2 separate regions of the Homo sapiens genome follow, and region 2 is linked to region 1. The links are contacts of gene promoters, found by promoter capture Hi-C in blood cells and fetal thymus (Javierre and others, 2016). All regions are on one chromosome and are shown on one strand. The core of a region is centred on a gene start or on the middle of the fragment in contact, and the rest is flanking DNA. Distances in the headings are between cores, read along the strand shown.

What was found. The method cuts DNA at HindIII sites, captures the fragments that hold promoters and counts their contacts. A CHiCAGO score of 5 or more calls a contact.
Region 2: a fragment that was not itself captured here is called in contact with the fragment with the promoter of MED19 in region 1 in 2 of 17 cell types (activated CD4 T cells and M1 macrophages); the score reaches 7.3 in activated CD4 T cells.

The regions. Positions count from the first base shown.
Region 1 is chr11:57,710,011-57,715,920 of GRCh38, forward strand. MED19 (mediator complex subunit 19) reads right to left here and starts at 2,205. Exons shown (of 5, transcript NM_001317078.4): 1 at 1,953-2,205. The coding sequence starts at 2,169. It overlaps TMX2 (thioredoxin related transmembrane protein 2), which reads left to right and starts at 2,583. Exons shown (of 8, transcript NM_015959.4): 1 at 2,583-2,797. The coding sequence starts at 2,609. TMX2-CTNND1 (TMX2-CTNND1 readthrough (NMD candidate)) reads left to right here and starts at 2,513. Exons shown (of 21, transcript NR_037646.1): 1 at 2,513-2,797. RefSeq lists a silencer at 1,836-2,175 and an enhancer at 5,543-5,910. The HindIII fragment of the contact is 3,048 bases long and covers 521-3,568 here.
Region 2 is chr11:57,350,144-57,356,053 of GRCh38, forward strand. P2RX3 (purinergic receptor P2X 3) reads left to right here. Exons shown (of 12, transcript NM_002559.5): 8 at 619-755. Among named protein-coding and RNA genes, the nearest start is that of P2RX3, 15 kb to the left of the region's middle. RefSeq lists an enhancer at 1-185. The HindIII fragment of the contact is 187 bases long and covers 2,433-2,619 here.

The DNA of each region.
Region 1 (5,910 bases), core at 955-3,454:
CATGTGGCTGCTTAAATGATTATAAACAAGTGCATTTGACCAACTTCCTATGTTAAAATGGCTTTCCTTGGCTGGGCACAGTGGCTCAGACCTATAATCCTAGCACTTTGGGAGGCCAAGGCGGGAGGACTGCTGTTGGCCAGGAGTTCAAGACCAGCTTGCGCAACACAGTAAGACCCAGTCTCTACAAAAAAATTTTAAGTTAGCCAACTGTGGTGGTGCATGCCTGTAGTCCTAGCTACTTGGAAGGCTGAGGTGGGACGACAGCATGAGCCTAGGAACTGGAGGTTACAGTGAGCTATGATTATACCACTGCAGTCCAGCCTGGGTGACACAGTGAGACCTTGTGTCTATAAAAAAATTTTTTAAATGGCTTCCTTTTGTATTTACAATCTAAATGCCTTTACTGCTTTATAAAAGCCTCTGCCTAACTCTCCCAGCTTCATCTCTCTCCCTAACACTCTTTCCTTTTGTTCACTTCACTGGAGTCCAACTGATTTTCTGTCCCTCAGATATTCTAAGCTTTTTCTCACATCAGGGTTTCTGACCTCATTTCTTGTATCTACAATTGTCTCTCCCTCCTGTCCATACATGGCTGGCCCTTTGTCTATGCTTACATTTTAGTTCAAATGTTAGCTATGTGAAGAGAGCATCTCTGGCCACTCTAGCTAAAGTAGTTCTGCCCCTCAATTTTTTTTTTTTAAGAGACAGGGTCTCATCTGTTGCCCAGGCTGGAGTGCAGTGGCACAATCTTGGTTCACTGCAGCCTCGACCTCCTGTGTTCAAGCGATTCTCCTCCCTTAGCCTCCTGAGTAGCTGGGGCTACAGGCATGCATTACCACGCCCGGTTAATCTTGTATATTTTGTAGAGACTGGGTCTCGCCATGTTGCCCATGCTGGTCTCAAACTCCTGGGCTCAAGGGATTCTGCCTCGGCCTCCCAAAGCGCTGGGATTACAGGCGTGAGCAACGCGCCTGGCCACCTTCAATTTTTATCATGTTTTCTTTTCCTAGCATTAACCACTTTCTGACATTATCTTGTTTACAATGCCTCCTCCACTGAAATGTACATCCCAAAAAAGGCAAGCATCTTGTCAGTCTTGTTCACAACTGTCTCCAGCATTTAGAAAAGTGCTTGGTACATAGGTACTCAACAAAATAATTTTTTGAATGAAGAGTTTGGTTCGATTCTTATCCCTTTTTTGATCAGACCAGGAAATGCCGGAACCTTAGAAGGAAGAATGGCAACTTGCCCCAAACCAATAGCAAGTCTGTGGGAGACCTGTAACTAAAACTTTGGGTCCCCAAAGATATTAAATCAGGCCTCTCGAGTTCCAAACTCAAACCCTGGATTTTGTTTGTTTTGAGACGGAGTCTCGTTCGCCCAGGCTGGAGTGCAGTGGAGCAATGTCGGCTCTCTGCAACCTCCGCCTCCCGGGGTTCAAACGATTCTCCCGCCTCAGCCTCCCGAGTAGCTGGAATTAAAGGTATACGCCACCACGCCCAGGTAATTTTTGTGTTTTTTGTGGAGACAGGGTTTCATCATGTTGGCCAGGCCGGTCTCGAACTCCTGACCTTAGGTGATTCGCCCGCCTCCGCCTCCCAGAGTGTTGGGATTACAGGCGTGAGCCACCGCGCCCAGCCCTAGGTCATTTTTTAGAGAGACATAAACCAGTGTCAGGGACACAGCCTGGACATGGTGCAAAAGACAGTAACGGAGATGCACTACGCCCCTGCCCGCCATTCATCCCTTTGGTTGAATTCAACTCATCCTGGTTGAATTCAAGTCATCCCTCTGCTTGTGAATCCTAACAGCGCTTCCGACTTAGGGCTCCACAGTCCGGGTATGCGTTGCCTAGGTTACCTCGCACCTCCGCTAGCCGGCTGAGAGCCACGCCCATCACCTCCTCTCTAAGATTTGATTGGCTGGCTTTGGCAAGGCCGAGTACTCACCTGGCAGTTCCCTCATGAGGTAAAAAGGGCCACAGCCAGCTCCTGACTTGTCCGCGCCAGGAGGAGCCGTGGCCGCGGTGGGAGGCGGGGCCGTGCCGGGTCCCCCGCCCGCAGGAGGCGGTGGCGGGGGTGGAGGCTTTCCTGGTCCGAAGCCGAGTGCGGTTGGGGGCGGTGGTGGGTCAGCCTGAGCCCCAAACAGTGCCGTGAAATTCTCCATCGTACCCTCCGCCCCGGCGCTGTCTCCGTGTCTGCCGTTGGTAATTTTCATTGGACAATGCTTTCAAGGAGTACCCCCCCGCCCTTTCTCAAGGAGCCGCTTGTCATTGGATGCCTCAGGCACCGCCTACCTTTTTTCAACAACTACTTCCGTCGCCTTATGAGAACGTTCAGGAAGTGCTATTTAACCTTATTAGAGTCTTCTGCTAGCTCTGCTTGCTACAGTCCAATAAAATGACTTAGGCGGATAAAGCGACAACTAGACTAACCAATAAAATATTAAGTTCTTTTTTGGGTTCTGACCTACCACAGCGTTCAGAGAACTACATCCGGGTTTAGAGGCCGTACGTTTGCGATATAGCCCAATAGCAGTCGTTATGGTGGGGGAGGCGGGGCGAGACCTACGACGCCGGCGAGCAGTGGCCGTTACGGCCGAAAAGATGGCGGTCTTGGCACCTCTAATTGCTCTCGTGTATTCGGTGCCGCGACTTTCACGATGGCTCGCCCAACCTTACTACCTTCTGTCGGCCCTGCTCTCTGCTGCCTTCCTACTCGTGAGGAAACTGCCGCCGCTCTGCCACGGTCTGCCCACCCAACGCGAAGACGGTAACCCGTGTGACTTTGACTGGGTGAGCCTCCCGCGTGTTAGTACCCCGCGACCTTGACTGTCCCTGCCCTTGCAGGTGTATCTGGGAACCCTGGGGTTTACCTCTCTGAGGACACCTGAGGTTCCGAGCCTGTAGCGGACTTAGAGACTATTAAGTGCAGGGTCCGAACCATCATCGAGTCTAAACTTTGTGTTTAAGATGGGAAAACGGAACATGTTAGTCGTAGCCCATGCACAACGGCCCAACAGCTTTTGACTGTTGAGTCCAGGTTTCTTTCTGTTTCACCATTGAGACTAATTAACAGCCCTATCAAAACTGTACATACACGTGTATAACGTTTTACAGTGCCGCTCATTATGTAAAGCCTCCTGAGGAGCCAGTAAGGTAGACAAGGCAAGTAGTAATATTCCTGTTTCATTGGTGAAGAAATGGATCTCGGTATATTTAGGTGACTTGCCCCAGGTCATACAACTAATGAGTGCCTGGGACTTGAAACTACTCTTCTGGCCACACTACCTGCACAACACTGTCAGCCGCTTCTTAATTCAATAAACATTTCTAGAGTGTACACTCTAGGCACTCTGCTTGATCCTGAAGATGCGAAAGTGGATAAAATTTGGGGGCTACTGTAAAGGAATTGTAAAAAATACGTTGTAAAGAAATCTTTGGGATTTCTTTGGGAAGTGTCCCAAGCTCCTTGCTGTGCTTCCTTGGTATGGGTGGAGGGACTGCTCGGAACATAAACTTAAAGCACTTTCCCTTCTGCCATATAGCATGTAGGGGCCAAGGAAAAGCTTCCCCTTTGCTCTCTGAGGGTTTGTTGAAAAATCAACCGACAAAGGGCACATTAATAGGAGAAAGGCATAGAAATTTTATTTTAACGTGCATAGCATGAGGGAATTGCAGGAGAATGACCCAGTGGGGTACAGATGCTTATATACCCTCTTTCATAGGAATATGGGAGATGGGAAAATGTGGGTGATTTTAAGGTGGATCGTAAATGATTTTTAGGGTGATTCAGTGGCCTGGAGAACATACAGTGGCCTGGGACAATGACTGTTGGGCCTGCAGAGCAGACAATGGTTTCTGACAAAAATCTGTCCAGGTGTGTTGACAGGCTTCCATCTTTCTTCTTGTACTGAAGTAAGTTAATGAAAACTCAGGGAAGAGACCAGAAGTAATTGTTGTCTTCTTTGACAGGTCTGGACTTTAGGCAGATAAGGTAGTTATCAGAGTAAAGCTGCTTCCAGTATCTGCTGGTTTCCAGGGACCTTTAATTTAAAATGATTAGCATACAGGATGCCATATTTTGGGGTGTGAGTCCCTGGTCTTCTTTATTTCCTTTGTCTGAAACTTCCTTAGAAGTTTCACTATAAGCTGAGTTGGTGTCTGTGGAGAGAGAAATCGGGCTAGTAATTGAGCGGCAAAGGATCCCATTAAACCAGCCTCTCATTTTGGGGGATAGTCCAGTTCAATTAAATTGTTGTGTCTCATTTCAGAAGATGGCATTGTAGATGAGTTCTCAAAGCTAGGCCTCTGTATATGATGTAGGCAAACAGGTATTTAATAAGAGAGACATTTCTATGGAACAAGACAAACAAAGCTTAATATCTGGTATAGTCTATAAACTAGTTTCTTTAGAGTCTGGAGGGCAGTCAATTGGGAAGATTAATAGCAATCTATTTTCCTAGATTGTAGGTTGTGTGTAAAGTTTGTCCAAATATAAGCTTTTGTGGTGATTTTTTTTTCAAAGTCACGTTGACTAGCTTTAGCTGGTAAGGCCTTAGGAAAAAGGCAGGGTTTTTAGTTTTTTGGATTTTTTTTTGAGACAAGGTCTTGCTCTGTCATCCAAGCTGGAGTGCAGTGATGTGATCATGGCTCACTGTAGTCTTAACCTCCTGGGCAAAGCCATCCTGCCACCTCAGCTTTCCAGGTAGCTGGAACCAAAGGCATGCACTACACACCTGGCTAATTTTTAAAAATTTTTTTTCAAGGTGGGGTCTCTTGATGTTGCCCAGGCTGGTCTTGAACTCCTGAGCTCAAGGGATCCTCCTGACTTGGCTTCCTAAGGAGCTGGGATTTACAGGTGTGAGCCACTGCGCCAAGCTAAAAAAGGCCGTTTTAATTTTTAGTGATTCTAAGTCAGAAGAGTGGGTGAAAAATGGAAAACATTAGTCTGGAGGTTAGCAATTTTATGAGTCCAGTTTTATTTTCATTAGACTTTGGAAATTTTTACCCAGTCCGGTGATACAGTTTCAAAGTTATCAGAAACCTTTATTTGTCAGCATTCTTCCCATGCTTTCCATGATCCTCCTTGAAAATAAGACACTTGGCCAGGCATGGTGGCTCACATCTGTAATCCCAGCACTTTGGGAGGCTGAGGCGGGTGGATTTCCTGAGCTCAGGAGTTCGAGACCAGCCTGGCCAACATGGTGTAACCCCGTCTCTACTAAAAATACAAAAAATTAGCTGGGTGTGGTGGTGGGTGCCTGTAATCCCAGCTACTCTGGAGGCTAAGGCAGGAGAATCACTTGAACCTGAGAGGCAGAGGTTGCAGTGAGCCAGGATCGTGCCATTGCACTCCAGCCTGGGCAACAAGAGCAAAGTTCTGTCTCAAAATAAATAAATAAATAAAATTAAAAAAATATATTTTATATATAATATATATGTATTAATGTGCTTTTAATACTAAAGCTGATTTTAATAAACTTTACAAACAAATCTGTCTAATCTTGATCAGCTTTGACTAGACAAGATAAAATTTCCATAAACCTTTTATAACCTCTTAGAATTTGTTTTCTTTTTTTTTTCTTTTATTGATCATTCTTGGGTGTTTCTCGCAGAGGGGGACTTGGCAGGGTCATAGGACAATAGTGGAGGGAAGGTTGGCAGATAAACAAGTGAACAAAGGTCTCTGGTTTTCCTAGGCAGAGGACCCTGCCGCCTTCCGCAGTGTTTGTGTCCCTGGGTACTTGAGATTAGGGAGTGGTGATGATTCTTAACGAGCATGCTGCCTTCAAGCATCTGTTTAACAAAGCACATCTTGCACCGCCCTTAATCCATTTAACCCTGAGTGGACACAGCACATGTTTCAGAGAGCACAGGGTTGGGGGTAAGGTCACCGATCAACAGGA
Region 2 (5,910 bases), core at 1,276-3,775, 360 kb before region 1:
CACTTCACCTCAGGCAAAGGCCTTAGATCTGTAATAAGCCCCAAACGACGGGAAAGTAGACCTGTGGCCACTTTCTCCTGTGTTGTAGCTAAAGCACTGAAGATCCCAAAATTAGGACTCAGAGGCTCCAATGTTCGCATCCGAGCCACAACCTTTTTTTTTTTTTTTTTTTTTGAGACAGAGTCTCGATCTGTCTCCCAGGCTAGAGTGCATGGCGCGATTTCGGCTCACTGCAACCTCCGCCTCCCAGGTTCACGCCATTCTCCTGCCTCAGCTTCCGGAGTAGCTGGGACCAAGCCCGGCTAATTTTTGGTATTTTTAGTAGAGTCAGGGGTTCGCCGTGTTAGCCAGGATGGTCTCGATCTCCTGACCTCGTGATCCGCCCGCCTCGGCCTCCCAAAGTGCTGGGATTACAGGCGTGAATCACCGCACCCGGCCACCACAGCACTTCTTTACTGAGCAGTATATGACATGTCACTTTCCGTTCTCCCTGCCTCCGTCTCCCACCTGGAGGATGGGAGGAAATCATTTGTCACCACCTCCACCCCACCCCCACCCTGGCCCAGAGCAGGGAGTCAGAGGGCGAGGGGAAAGCTCATACCCGGCCCGTTTCTTCAGGGGGGAGTTCTGGGCATTAAGATCGGCTGGGTGTGCGACTTGGACAAGGCCTGGGACCAGTGCATCCCCAAATACTCCTTCACCCGGCTCGACAGCGTTTCTGAGAAAAGCAGCGTGTCCCCAGGCTACAACTTCAGGTAATTCCCTGTCTCCTGGGACACCAGGAGAAGAAGGTGCGGGCTGTTAACGGCAATGTTTATTGGGGAGACAAGATCCCACATCCATCCACCCACCCCTGGCCCCAAGTCCCACCTCAGGTTTCATTTCAAATCAGGAAGGACTCTCTAACAGCCATTAGGATCTAGCTGGTTGTCCTGGGAGACAGTGTCTCCTTATCACTGAAGGGGACCACGCCAAGGATTCCTGCTGCAGGTCAGTAGTTAGAAGAGAGGGCCAAGGTCTCTTGAAATGCTAGGGTTCTGCGATTCTTTGCCTGTTCCTAACACTGGCCTGAAACTGTGACGTGCTTAAGTGACTTCCAGATAGGCCCATTCCCTGCCCTGGGCCTGAATTTTCTAAGGTTTCTCGCTCTACAAAGTAAGGGTGATAACTGGTATCATTTTACATTTTACAAGATGGCAACTTTGCATTTCTCTCCGCAAACGTGTGTCACCAGTAGCAATTATAATTGTCTCTGGTTCTTCAATGCCTCTCCAAACAAGAACTCAGACCAGTCTTTAAATATCATCCCAATGGCTTTGAGACTTCAGGGATCTTTTCGGGTTTTGTTTTGTTTTGTTTTTCCATTTTGAAGAAAGGGAGAGAGGAATTAGAGGACAAACTGTTTGGAAGCAACTGAAAGCGCTTGAACAAGCCATTTGTCTTCTCCCATCCTAATTTCCCCACCTATGAAATTGTGATAGTACCACTGTGATCTTCAGGATTCAATTAACCAATGTGTGAAAAGCTTCAGCTTTCTGTTTTGTTTCTCTCTTCTTTTTTTTCTGAATCATTCATTTATTGATTCATCCATTAAACACATACCAATTGTCTACTACGTGCTGAGGACCGTACTCAGTTATCTTAGGTTAGCAGTTCTCAAAGTGTAGACTACAAGGTCAACACTACTTATTAAAGGTTTTGTTTTCTTTTTAATTGATAAATAACAATTGCATATATATGGGATACAATGTGATGTTTTGATACATGTATACATTGTGGATTTCCCCCAGTTTTTGAAGATCCTGAAGTTTCTGGCAGGGCCCTGTTTAAGTACACAGCATTATACACTAAACAGCTTAAATAGAACAAATAGGGAGTGACCAGGGGAAAAAAATACATAAGAATATATTTCATTTACATTTGAACATAAGAATGTATATTTGAATATATTCAAATAAATGTTACTCAAATTTCCTTTGTTGAGGTGGTATTCTCTGATACAATGGCATACGTAAGCCAAAAATAATCATTTCACCTTTTAAAATTGTTAATTTATAACTTAAAAAAATAATCACCCACCCCATTAAGCTTTATATTTAATAGTTTAAAATATACATGTATATTCTCTGGAAAGAAGAATCTTTAAAAATTGAAGTACTTTCATCATCAACTCCAAACTTTAAAAAAACCATAGGAAACAACACATATTTTAAAGTAGGTTAAAAATACTGTGCGGCTCACTGGCAGAAATTGGCATATTTATTCAGTTGGTATATCACACTGAGATCAATACAAAGGATATTTGTATGGTGGCTTAAAATAGTAACATATTAATAAAATTCTCATGATCTAAAATGCAAGTTTTCATCTTCATAACTTCCCTTTGGCCATTGGGAATTCTTTAATCCTCCAAATAACTCATTTGGCAGAAAAGCTTATGAAGAATGTGAATATTATAAAGACCCCCAACTACTGATATCGTACAGTTTTAGAACAGCATCTCTCATCTAAATAAGAATTGGTCTGGAGTTCTTTATCTCCAATTTATTGCACTGTGGCTGCCTTCCCTCCCTCCCCACCTGAGCACAGAAGGATGCGGGATAGACCTGGTCCTAAATAAGCTTGGAGGGTATTTGGGGAGGCAGGACGGAATATCCCCAAAGACCCTGCCTGCATAATTCCCAGAGGCCTAAGAGAAACCACCCCCTCTTAGGATCTCAGATAATTGACTCCCCCAACAAAGTCCCCCAGGCCAGAGAAGAAGGAGGCAAAGCTGCTTAGTTTGACCCTTGTGATTTAAAAGTTTCCAGAGGGCCCAAGTAATAGCCCTGACATTGGGGGACATCTGATATCAGTGGCAAGCAGAGGGCTCTGCCCAAGCCCCTTCCCATCCCTTCACCTGGGTGCCCACCCACCACCCTCATGCAACCTCAAACTACTGGCACCCAAGGCTAAGCTAAGAGCCCACGTGTGGGAGGCTGCAAAGCTGTCTTTCTGAATGCTTGAATAAGAGAGAAAGGGTCACAAAGCCAGGTTCAGTGCGGGTCACAGTGCACTTTCTATGATATGGTAAGATGTACGCTGTTTTTTAGAATCTCACCAAGCTACTTATCAGTAGAAACCATACTAGTCACCCTGTGTGCAAAACGTTTTGTGTGCTTCAGCTCAGCATTCCTTGCATGCCCTACGAAGTAGATGCTACAATATCCCCCCCAACTTTATAAAGGAGAAGATGGAGTCTCACTGTTAAATAACATTCTCAAAGTCACAAAGCAAGCAAGAGGGGGAGCCTGGATTCAAAACATATTTCTTTGGATGATCTCCACCCCAGCCAGGAAGACTAGGGACATTTGTACTTGTTAATCCTCAGAAAAAAAAGCATGCCTATGTGGTTGACACTTTCATCCCAGCTTAAAAACAAAGAATCTAAGTTCCAAGGAGATTTCAAGACTAGCAGATGCTGGCAGCACAATTCATAGCCCGGCCTTTTGTCTCCCAAACAATTCATTTGCTGCTCCCTCCAACAGAGGCAGATTTTTCAACACCCCTACTGTTGCCATTTGCTCTGGAGGGAATGGAATTATTCAGCCAAGATTCGGCCGTGTTTGAATCTGCTAACTAAGACATCCAGAGGCAGCTAGAGATTCACATTTCCATCACTAATTACATTCGCAGCTCCCTTCCAAATGTCACTCCCCCCCCCCCGCCCCTATTTTTTGTAGCTCTTTGCCTGCAGAATCAGAGATTTTGAGAATTTATAGCTGTTGAAGTTCCCCTTGCAGTCACCCAGAGTAAGGCGGTCACTTTACAGATGAGGAAGCGGAAGTTCCAAAGGGGGCATCTTAGAGTAGCCTCAAAGGTCATTGGATCTCAACTCCTAATGTGACCCTTGTGATTTAAAGGAGTTTACGGACCCATGTAAGAGATTACAGGCCCATGTAATCACCCTGACACTGGGGGATATCTGATCTCCGTGGCAAGCAAAGTGGCCTGCTCCATTCATTGGAAAGGTGACCTCAAATTGAGCCAAAATGTGCCTCCCTTTAAATCCTCTCCAGTGTACTTGGTGCTGTCCATGCAAGTTAATCTTTATTTTTGTGATCCCCTAAAGATTCTGTTCTTCCCCTACCTGAAATTTAGTGGAGACATTTTATTTTTACTCCTTGGTCTGTTCTGCGTGGCTAAAGACTCCGTGGGCCGCTTTAACTTAGTATTTTTATGAAGCCTCTTTCTAAGCACACTGAGATTGCAGTTGGTGGGGTCATCTGGATTTCTAGCAGACAAAATGCAGCAATTTCTAAAAATAAGAACTGTTGAGAGTCACCAGTTCAGTGCTGCACAAGTGAAAGGCGCCCTCAGCAGAGCCCTGCAGTTCTTCAGGAGGCTCTCTTCTCTGTTGGCAAGGTTTCTGAGGCCCAGGTAGACCCTCAATTCACAGGAGCAGGATTTTAACAAGAGTACTATATTTCCCAAAGTCCTGGGAACAGGTGATGTTGTGTGTGTGTGTGAGTGTGTGTGCACATGCGAGTTCGTGAGAGTGGGTGTATTTGTTAGTGGGTGAATGTGTGAGGCTGAGAGTGAGTGTGTCAGTGTGTGTGTGTGTGCGTGAGTGTATAGGCATTGATGGTGCAATGACAGATTAAAAATACTGTATCCGTCAGGGTCCCCGCAGGAAACAGATGGCACATTCTAACTGGGTAATCTGAGGAGAGTTTAATAAAGGGACTGTTTCAAAGGTGTGGGCAGGGTGTACGGAAACCACACAGATAGTGCAGTGCCAGGGCCAGAAACAGGACACTGGTTACCACCCAGGTCTGAAGAGGCGAGGAGAGGAAGCAGTGACAGGAACATGGAGACGGACAGAGCTGTGAGCAGAGGACAGCCTGACATGTGGCTGTGACTCAGGAGAGCCCCACCAGAAGCCAGAGCTGAGGCAAAGTGGCCCACTGAGGCAGCCCAGGGCAGGGCGAGGAAGGGAGGAGCACGGACCTGAGGGGCACCTGCAGAGATGTCCAGGACAAGTCCTGACAACTTTCATCTGTGAAATTACAGCCCTTCCTTAACTTTCAGAGGTCTCTAACTGCTTTATGCCCCCGATGAAAATGGGGACCATTGTCCAAGGAAGATGCATGTATTCATAGACATGAGAAAATTCACAGGCAAGTTCTCTTCTTAAAGGATATTTTATTTCTTTTTTTTTTTTTTTTTTTTTGAGACAGAGTTTTGCTCTGTTGCCCAGGCTGGAATGCAGTAGTGCAGTAGTCTCGGCTCACTGCAACCTCTACCTCCCGGGTTGATGCAATTCCCCTGCCTCAGCCTCCCCAGTAGCTGGGATTACAGGTGCCCGCCACCACGCCCAGCTAATTTTTGTATTTTTAGTAGAGACGGGATTTCAACATGTTGGCCAGGCTGGTCTCGAACTCCTAACTTCAAGTAATCCACCCACCTTGGTCTCCCAAAGTGCTGGGATTATACGCGTGAGCTACCACGCCTAGCCAGGTTATTTCATTTCTACAAATAAGATACAAATACATTCTCAGAGTAATAAATCCAACCAATACTGATATATACAAAGTAATGACATGGGAAGTCCCCTTCATTCCCCCAGGCCTGCACCCTTTGCAGGGAATTAACATCTGGGACGGTTTAATGAGTTTCTTTCCAGTTCTTATTCTATGCATTTATATTTATGCAGCATAAAATTCCAAGACTTTGAGGCCCTCTAAAAGCCTATCCCGTAGCCAGGTGTGGAAGCTCCTGCCTGTAATCCCAGCACTTTGGGAGGCTGAGGCGGGAGGATCCCTTGAAGCCAGGAGTTTGAGACCAGCCTGGGCAGCAATAGCAAGACTCCTTCTCTACAAAAATAAGATTAAAAATTCTAAAAAATAAATAATAAATGAAAGCCTATCC